3 separate regions of the Homo sapiens genome follow, and all the other regions are linked to region 3. Evidence: promoter capture Hi-C in 16 types of primary human blood cells and fetal thymus (Javierre and others, 2016). All regions are on one chromosome and are shown on one strand. Each heading gives the region's core, a stretch centred on a gene start or on the middle of the fragment in contact. The rest is flanking DNA. Distances are from core to core; before and after follow the strand shown.

Evidence for each region. Contacts are between HindIII fragments. The CHiCAGO score rates a contact against its expected background, and 5 or more counts as called.
Region 1: a fragment that was not itself captured here is called in contact with the fragment with the promoter of THOC7-AS1 in region 3 in 1 of 17 cell types (neutrophils); the score reaches 5.0 in neutrophils.
Region 2: a fragment that was not itself captured here is called in contact with the fragment with the promoter of THOC7-AS1 in region 3 in 11 of 17 cell types (total B cells, monocytes, activated CD4 T cells and 8 more); the score reaches 9.0 in total B cells.

Annotation. Positions count from the first base shown.
Region 1 is chr3:64,049,833-64,052,968 of GRCh38, forward strand. No RefSeq gene overlaps it. Among named protein-coding and RNA genes, the nearest start is that of PRICKLE2-AS1, 17 kb to the right of the region's middle. The HindIII fragment of the contact is 3,920 bases long and covers 1-3,136 here.
Region 2 is chr3:64,033,441-64,036,870 of GRCh38, forward strand. No RefSeq gene overlaps it. Among named protein-coding and RNA genes, the nearest start is that of PSMD6, 12 kb to the left of the region's middle. The HindIII fragment of the contact is 3,820 bases long and covers 1-3,425 here.
Region 3 is chr3:63,858,845-63,862,239 of GRCh38, forward strand. THOC7-AS1 (THOC7 antisense RNA 1) reads left to right here and starts at 1,801. Exons shown (of 2, transcript NR_104326.1): 1 at 1,801-2,152; 2 at 2,655-2,975. The region is part of intron 1 of THOC7 (THO complex subunit 7); the gene reads right to left. The HindIII fragment of the contact is 14,056 bases long and covers 1-3,395 here.

The DNA.
Region 1 (3,136 bases), core at 574-3,073, 190 kb after region 3:
AGACTGGCATGTTTACAGTTTGGCTCTATTGATCCTTTTTTTATTTGAGTGAAGGATTAGGTTGACATTAAAAAGGTTGATGCCGATGACAAAGGCTCTCCCATTGTGATGCTCAGGGAGCTAGTGCATCGGCTGAGCTTTGTGGAAGACTTGTAAGTAGAGGGGAGGAGGTGAGCAAACTCAAGAGATTAGGACAAGAGGGAGGGAGCAGCCCGGGAGGTGGAATGCCAGAAAAGAGGATGGTCGGGGCTCACTGAGATTGGGAAGGGCTGAGCTGAGGCCCACTGCAGGCAACAGAGAAGATAGGGATGAGACTGGAACAACATATCCTTTGGGTTCAGAGGGTTCTTGGAGTCCAGTTCCATCATGGATAAACAAGTACCTGTAATTAGGATTACTGGTGTTATAGGAAACAGTATTAAAAACAACCACTAAAGTTCTTGCCTTTCTTCCCTATTTCAAGTCCTACTAGAGGCATTTAAAAAGCTGGCATATAGTGGATTTCTAACAACCTGGATTACTAACACAACATGCTAGTGTTATATTTGTCAGTATATCTTTTGCTTTAGGTTATTTTCTTTTAATTTTTGTTTCATTAGATAAGTAGAAAGTTATTAAAGAAAACAGAAATTTTAGATATTAAAAAGGAATATGCTAAATTACATGTAATCCTACCAGCTGGTCATAATAAAAGTATTTTTTTTGGTATTAACTAACCTGTCAGACATTATAAATGTTGTATATACACACACATGTGTGTGTTTATATAATACACTTGTTTTATAATGAAACAATCATAACCAGGCATATGGCTATATAACCTGCTTTAATTCATTCATAGCATACCGTTACTGTATTTCCATGCCAGTAATTGTATATAGAGAGAGCTGGGCTCAGTAGCATGAGCCTGTAGTCTCTGTAGTCTCAGTTTCTTGGGAGGCTGAGGCTGGAGGATTGCTTAAGCTCAGGAGTTTGAGTCCAGCCTGGGCAACATAGCAAGACCCCATCTCTTAAAAATAATTATACATACATCCATACATACATACACACCCACACACACACACACAGATGAAAATGATGTATATATACATTTTTGACCTAACAGTTACATGAATGTCCCATGACTTGTTTGAATATTTTACTTTCTTTCTTTTTTTAAGTATTTTACATAATGTAATGTAGCACTAAATATTTTTGGACATTAGTTCTGAGTACTTGTCTGACTATACAGGTAATTCTCAAAAATAGATGAGAAATGTTACTTCTCAGACTGTCTCCTTTGTTGTTTTCAAGATTTTCTCTTCATCCCTACACATCTGTTGACCATAATTTTCTCTTTGGTCAATTTCCTTTTATATAGTCTCACTTGAAAAATGACTACATGAATCTCCCGTGGCAATTCCAAAATTCCAAATAATTTATGTAGATACTCCGTCTTCAAGGAGGGGGAGCATACATTCCTACTCCTTAAATGTGGGCTATGCATAGTGACTTCCTTCCAAGGAGTACGGCATAAAAGGAGGAACAAAAAATGAAAGTAACTTTACGGTGGAGCAACATGACAACACCACCTCATCCAGGTGATCAAGGTCTACATCAACAGCTATAAATCATGTTGATGTTACATACTCCTGATAAGATGTGATGAAAATGACAGTTTACCTCTGTGGCCTTCCCCCCTGCCCCGCCCCCCAGTAACCCAAAACACCAGTCTTATCATGACAAAACACCAGACAGCATTTTAATAGTAGGGCATCCTACAAAACATCTAACCAATACTCTTCTAAACTGTCCAAGTCATTAGAAACAAGGAAAGTCTGAGAAACTATCCCAGCCAAAAGGAGCAAAGGAGACATGACTAACTGTAACCTGGTAGCCTGGATAGAATCCTGGAACAGAAAAGGGACAGCAGGTAAAAACTAAGGTAATCAGAATAAAGTACGGACTCTAGTGAACAACAATTTATCAATATTGGTTCATTGATGGTAACATATGTACCATACTAATGTAGGATATTAATATCAGGGAAACTTGGCATTGGGTATATTAGAACCCTCTGTACTATCTGTTTGACTTTTCTGTGAATCTACAACTATTCTAAAAATAAAGTCTATTAAAAATGAGCTTAAGAGCATCCCAAAGGTGGTTCTTTTCTTGGTGCCGTCTGAATGCGCAAATGTAGACATGTGAACTGGACTTCAGGCTACTGAAGTCAGGCCTAGTCTGGGCCTGTCCTCACTGGTGAGGGTGGGTGTGGGGATGGTCTACAGAGCAGAAGGCAGTCCCCGGCCAGACGGAGAGCTCAATGTGGAGGAGCCACCCTTATTATTTCCTCCTGCTTGAATATGTGTACTCATCCTAGAAGGTGCACATTCTTTCACTCCAGCAATACTAACAACAGTAAGAAGAAAAATTCTCAAAATTGAGTGAAACACCGCCACCACCAACCATATCAAGAAAGAACACACCTGCAACAGCTTTCTCTGCATCGATTTAATTTGCTCTCCAACAAGTTGAGGCCTTCATAGGATGGACAGTCCACCTGCATGACTAACTCTGCTGGAGAAAGCCTTGGACCTGGAACTTGCCCAGAGAGTTAGAAAAGCTGAGAGTGTGACAGCAGGGTGCCACCAAGAATTCACTGTCTTCAAGAAGAGCAAACAGGAGCAATAATGCTATTACCATTGCTAACTGTGTAAAACACATATAAAACACACCAATAACTTAGAAGTTTCTTGTTCACAGGTAACTCAGTTTTTTAAAATATGGGTTACTTGGACTGTTTCTAATAAAATAGCTAATATTTGCTAAGCTGACCACTTGCTACCTGCCAAGCTCTGTTTGAAGCACCTAATATGTATTAATTCATTTAGTCATCACAACTCTATGAAGTGGTTACTATTATTGCTCCCATTTTATAGATGAAGCTGAAAGAGAGGTTAAGTAGCTTTCAAAAGGTCTTACAGAAGGGAGAATTCACATCATAATAATTTGACTCCAGAACCCAAACTCCCAATCTCTATACCATATAATATGTAGCCTTACACACATATATGTGCACATATATACACATTCATATAGGTATATATGCATATATGTTTGTGTGAATGCACGTATCTTTACTATAAAACATTCT
Region 2 (3,430 bases), core at 266-2,765, 170 kb after region 3:
TGCTTGAAATTTTTAATATTCCTCTTTTTTTATTAATAGAGAACAATGATTCCAACACATTCAGCTTTATTTTAGGAAGAAATAATTTAACGCCTAACCCGTTATTTTTATTTATTTATTTAGAGACAGAGTCTTGCTCTGTGGCCCAGGCTGGAGTGCTGTGGTGCAATCTTGGCTCACTGCAATCTCTGCCTCCTGGGTTCAAGCGATTCTCCTGCCTCAGCCTCCTGAGTAGCAGGGATTACAGGCGCCCGCCACCATGCCTGGCTAATTTTTGCATTTTTAGTAGAGACAGAGTTTCACCTTGTTGGTCTAGAACGCCTGACCTCAAGTGATCCACCCACCTCAGCCTCCCAAAATGCTGGGGTTACAGGTGTGAGCTATGGCGCCCAGACTAATTTAGTGCCTAATCTGTTTAAAATGATGTTATAGTTTTTGTACAGCCACTTTGTTGTCACTGAGAGATCTCTCAATTTGAAGAGCTCACATCTGTAGAGGAAAAATTATAAGCAAGCCTTGCTTAACGAATTACGCTCTAAGGGATGAGGGACATTCTGGGCCCATGGCTACCCAAAAGCAACCCTCTTTATCTCCATGCTCAGTTCTGCCTCTGCATCTCCTGAAGTCTTCCTACTGAGGCCTAAGGGAAGTGAGGTTTAGAGGAGACCTTTAGCTCTCTGGAAGCCCAGGTGGAGAAAACTGGTGGAAGTATTTTTTCCCTATAGGCTGGGGAAGTACCTGGAGATGAGGCTTCAGATAGCCTAGGATGAGGACAAGACAGTGGCAGATGCTGGAAAGAATTTGACCTGCAGTCATCCATGACTCTTATGATGAAAGTTGATGTGAATGGTGCCTCCTGGAATTGTGCGTGGTGACACCTGGTTGACATTGTTTTCCCATCCTTCAAACCACTCCTCTCATCCACAAAAGACATATACATACAGCAAAAAACTCATCAGAGTGGCCTAAGACTTCTCAGTTGCAACACTGACAGCTAAACACAATGGAGTCACATCAAAGAGAGAAGGATCAGCAACCTAGGAATCCCATACCCAGCTAAGATATCTTCCATCTATCAGGCTGAAAGACATTTGAAGATAAGCAAATAGAAACTATAGCACCACAAAACCCCTTTCCGAGGAAATAATTAAGACTGAAAACCAACCACAGGTGAACCAGAAGAGGCATCTGAAGATGGAAGAAGATAAACAGAAGAGGTAAAATCACTCAACAGGATGTACAGGGCCATTTTGGAACCACAATACTGACATTTATTAAAACAATGCAACTGACAAAACATTTGCACACCAAACTGTAGAAGCCCAATGCCCCAAGCAAAACTATTACAAATCCAAGGATAACTTGATAAAATTACTATTGTAATCAGGGGCTGCTATATAGTTCCCTTAGCATATGCAGCAGAAAAAAAAGTAGGCAAGAACATAGAGGATTTAAAAATACAATCAGTAAACTAAATGTAACTTGTACTATAGAATGTTACATCCATTGAATAGGAGTATATTTCTCCATTATTTCAAATGTCCAGGAATATCTATAAAAAGTGATCATAAGAAGTGACATAAATCCACAATTAAAACCTTAAAAATTCAAAAGCATTGAGATGTTATAAGACATGATTTTCCAATACACAATCTAACAAAATAAGACATAAGCAATTTTAAAATGGCCAAACATTTTACCCATTTGGAAACTAAAAGGCAGCTGTTGATAATCTTTGGATTAAAGAGAAAATCAAAAGAAAAATCACCAGCTTTCTAGAAAGCAGTGAAAAGGTGTGCACAAAATACAAAGTCCATCAGACACAATGACACCCAGCCTGGAGAAGAGTTTATAGCCTTGAATGCCTTCACTGCCAGTGAACCACCAAAAAGGTGCTAAAGACTTACTTCTATAGTTTTCTAAAAAGAACAACATAGTAAACTCAAAGACACTAAGAAGACGGATGAAAAAAAAATAAAATACAAAGGTAATAAAATAGCATATCTACAGAGAGGAAAAATAAATTCAAATACTGCTTCTTGGCAAAGACCAGTGACATCTACAGATAAGCCCCTTCAAATCCTGATTAAGGAAAGAGTGAGCAAGAGAGATAAAGACGATGAGTGTGAACAAAAATAGGTTACATTAGAAACGTGAAAGGAGAAATAACCATAGATATAGGAGTGATTAAAATCGTTTAAGAGAATATAATAAGCAACTCTATATAATAGTTTTCAAAACTTGGAAGGATGAATTCCTAGTAATATTATAAATTATGAACATTGACCCAAGGAAAAAAGTTTAAAATTCTAAATCATCAAAGACAAAGCTAGAGATACTAATAAAAGATCTATCATACATTTTTAAGAAAAACAGCCATAGATGTTTTGGAGACATTAGAGATATTTGAATATGGACTGTATATTAAATGATATTTGGGGATTACTAATTTTCTTTGCTGTGACAAGTATGACAAAGCCCTTATTTTTAAAACTTGCATATTAAGTATTTAAGGAAGAAATGTCCTGATGACTGCAACTTTCTTCTCCCCCACACCCACATATCCACACACACACACCCAAATATGACAATATCATTATAAAACTATAGTAATCAAAACAGCATAATATTGGTGTAAAGACAAAGTGTTCAATAAAACAGGCTAGAGAGTCCAGAAAGAAATGAAACAGATATAGACAACTGATTTTTGACAAGGTTGCAAAGGCAACGCGTGAAGGATGAGTCACTTTTCAATAAATGGTACTGAAACAAATGGATATCAAAATGGGTGGCTCAAAATCTCAACACACAACAAGCACACACACCTTTCCAAAAGAATGGGAACCAATGTACCACATTTACTACTTCCATCTTAGTTTTCAGAGTCTGATTCCACAGGCATTATATTAACTAGGGCTCTTTTGTGGTTGAAAGCCACAGAAATAGACTCTGGCAACTATAGACAAAAGGAAATTTATTCAAGGGAGATATGGATGCCTACAGGATGCAAGTCAAGCCTGGGGAACCAGTTTTATTATGATATCTCCAAGGAACTCCAGCAATTTGGCCACTTACTTTAGGGAGCCAAAGCTGAGATGAATTAATTTTAGCATTTGTTCTTCCTTCTACCACCCACTTCAAGATTCAGAGTGGGGAGAGAGAAGCCAATTGGTCCAGTTGGGTCCCATGCTTGTGCTTGGCGACGCAAGCCCCCTGAGTGACAATCCTCCAGAAGCAGGCACTTTAGGGAGGAAAGTCATTGCTCCAAAAGGTATCAGGGTGTGTTGCCAGAAGAAGAAGGGGTGATGCTGGGCAGGGAAGAGCAACTGTGATCACCACTGTCAGTGTTCCGCTTGGAGTCTTGGCACAACTGGGTGATTAATTCTTCCATAGAGGGTGTGATCCTACTTGAGTTCCATTTAACAAGCTT
Region 3 (3,395 bases), core at 551-3,050:
AGTAGTGGTGAAAATATCCAGTCTAGTAGCTATAGCTACTCTAAAGCAGGGCAGTTCCTCAAACTGAGTGCAGGAAATAAAGGGCTGCTTCTTCAAGAGCTCCCAGTCCAACTGGATACGCAGACCCAGAGGAATGGATTACATGAAGGGACAGTGATACAGGCACATCAAATTTGTAAAAGACATTGGCTCTTATGTAAGCTCCATGGACAGGTACTGGTACTCCTCCAAGAGCTTTCCAGGAGGATGAATGAGATATCAAGAGCATCCACTTCTATCTTCCACACTAACATCGCTCTAATCCAAGCCCACATTTCTCTCATCTGGAATATTTTGCATTGGACTCCCTGTTTCCATTCTTGCCTTCCTAGAATCCATTTTTTATGCAACTCAGAATGATCTAAAAGATGAATTGGATCACTAACTCTCCTGCTTACAATCCTCCTATCATTTCTAAATGCCCACAAAGGACAATTCAGTCTCCTTTCCAAAGCCTGCAAGGCTCCTCCTGAGCTCCCTTTTACCTCCTTTTGCATCGTACTCCTCTTGGCCCACCTGGATGCAGTCCTGTCCCTAGATCCAGCCCAGTGGCTTTCCTTATTTCCTCTAAAGGGTGCAGAGCTTGTTTTCACCTCGGGCCTTTGCACTAGTTGTTGTCTCTATCTGGAATACTTTCCTGGGCTCTTCATGTGGTTGAACCTGTCAGGTATCACTGCCCTCCCCCATTACTCTCTGTCCTCATTCCATCAAGTTCATTCTCAGAACTTAATTACATTCCTTTTCAGAAATTATCTTATTTACTTATTTGATTGCACACTATGGCTTCTTTCCCCAAAGCAGGGGCCAGGGCCCTCCTCTGTCTAGTTCACTGCAAAGTAGCCAGGACCTCGCATTGTGCCTAGAAGGTATGCAATAAATACTTGTTGACGGATCACACATACCACTCATTTCAGCTTGATTTTTTCAAAAGCTCAGCTGACAAAAACCATGTTTATAGAGGATTGTCTGAAGAAGTTGTAGTTTGTCTTTCCTCTATGGTCTAGATATTCAATCAAAAAACCCTGATTTGAATCAAGCCAGATCAGCAGAGCTACCCACTACCCACCTAAACCACATTGTCCATTGATTTTATTTATTTATTTTTAGACAGGGTCTAGCACTGTTGACAGGCTGGAGTGCAGTGGTGCAATCATGGCTCGTTGCAACCTCAAACTCCTGGGCTCAAGTGATCCTCCTGCCTCAGCCTCCTGAGTAGCTGGGACTACCTACAGGTGTGTTCCACTCCACCTGGCTAATTTAAGAAAATTTTTAGTAGAGATGAGTAGCTGAGACTACAGGTGCACACCACCACACACGCCTGGCTAATTTGAAAAATTCTGTAGTATAGATCATGTCTTGCTGTGTTGCTTAGGATGGTCGCAAACTCCTGGGCTCACGTGATCCTCCTGCCTTAGCATCCCAAAGTGCTAAGATTGATTACAGGTGTGAGCTACCACACCCAGCCTCTACTGGCTTTAGAATGTCTTTCTAAATTGTGATTTAGCCTTCTTTTACCTAGCAAGGGATGTGCTACAAAACAGCTCTATGATCTTCAGTGCTGAAAAGAGGTTAAGGATATGACACTGGCTTTCATTTATAAAGACCTCAATGATAAACTTTTCCTCTAGTTCAAATCAGAAAAAAAAAGTGCTTTTCCTGGGCATCTAAGATTGCCTTCTCTCATGAACACTAGATCACAGAGCAGACGAGGTCCTGCCTCTCAGAATGGCCTACTGGAGAAACAGGTCACTTACAGCTTGGTTAATTAATGTACTAGACTTTATCCTCCTGCATTTTGAGGATCACCCCACTTCTGACTTCCCTTTATTTTTCCTAATCTCAATGTTCTTTTTGTCTTGTTTTCTAATCCGTTTAATTTTTATATTTTCTCATTACAGTGAACTGCCTTAAATGTTTTCTAGCATAAGGCATATAAATAACGTATTAAGGGTGACAGCAGCAATATGCATAAAATAATATGGCTAGTAGGCAGAAGGTCAACTACTTCTAGGAAAGAAAAGAGGGGATTTTTGAGGTGGGTCTTGAGGAATAAGTGGAGTGTCACCTGATAGAAAAGGCAGGAAAAGGCAACCTGTGCAGATTAAGAGAGAAGGCAAAGTCCACATCAAAGGAAAGTGGAAGACAGATTAGTAAAACAACTCTGACATTAATATTTACTGAATATTAATTATTATGTGTTGGACTCAATGCAAAGCCCTTTACAACTTTTTGTGTTTAATCCTCAAAACAATCCGCTGATGTGGATTTTATTATTATCTCCGTTCAGAGACTGAAGCTGAGACAGTCTGTAAGTGGCAGGGTAGAGATTCCTGTGGCTTTTAAGGATGTGGGGGGGCACTTGACTGCAGTCATTACTTTAGAACTCATCTTCTGTCCCTATCTCCCATCTGACAAAGCCTGTTGCTCCTTTGGACATCTCAATCTCAATAAATAGAAAAGTAGCACTAACAGGCACACAGTGAAGTCAAAAACCTGGGATCATCCTAAATCCCTTCTCCCACCATCCATTCAATACCTGAAGTCCTGACATTCTACCTCACAAATTTCCCTATTTCCCTCCCACCTGTCCTCTTTGCATTCCCTCTTGGTCACAGTCCTCATTGTCTCTCACCAGGGCCACTGCAGAAGTAGCAGACACAGGACGCATAATAGTGAAGAGCAGGAACTCGGCAGGTGGTCTCCCTGCCTTTGACCCTCTATAACTACTATCTGTGCGACCTTAGGCAAGCTAACCTGTGTCTGTTTCATCTGTAAAATGGGGATAACAATTAGAATAATACCTAACAGCACTACGTAAACGTTAGTAAGTGGCGAGGAAACTTAGCTCCTCATTTTCTCTTCCTCTAATCATTCTGCACATAACAGAGACAGTGTGTATGTGTGTGTGTGTTTTTTTTTTTTTTAATGAGACACGGTCTCACTCTGTCACCCAGACTGGAGTGCACTGGCGCGATCTTGGCTCACTGCAGCCTCAACCTCCCAGGCTCAAGTGATCCTTTCTCCTCAGACTCCCAAGTCCTGGGACTACAGGTGTGTGCCACTGTGCCAGACCAATTTTTTTGTATTTGTAGACATGGGGTCTCACTATGTTTTCCAGGCTGGTCTTGAACTTCTGAGCTCAAGAGGTCCGCCTGCCTTGGCCTCCCAAAGTGTTGGGATTACAGGCGTGAGCCACTGTGCCCGGCATGTGTGTGTGTTTTAATGCCAATCTGATTAACACCACACCAGTGTTAAAACTTTTAATGGATTCCTATTGCCCTTAGAGATCTCTGGCTCATAACTTTCTAAATTCTAGCAATACTTGTCAGCTTTGAGTTCTTCCAACATCTTGGGGT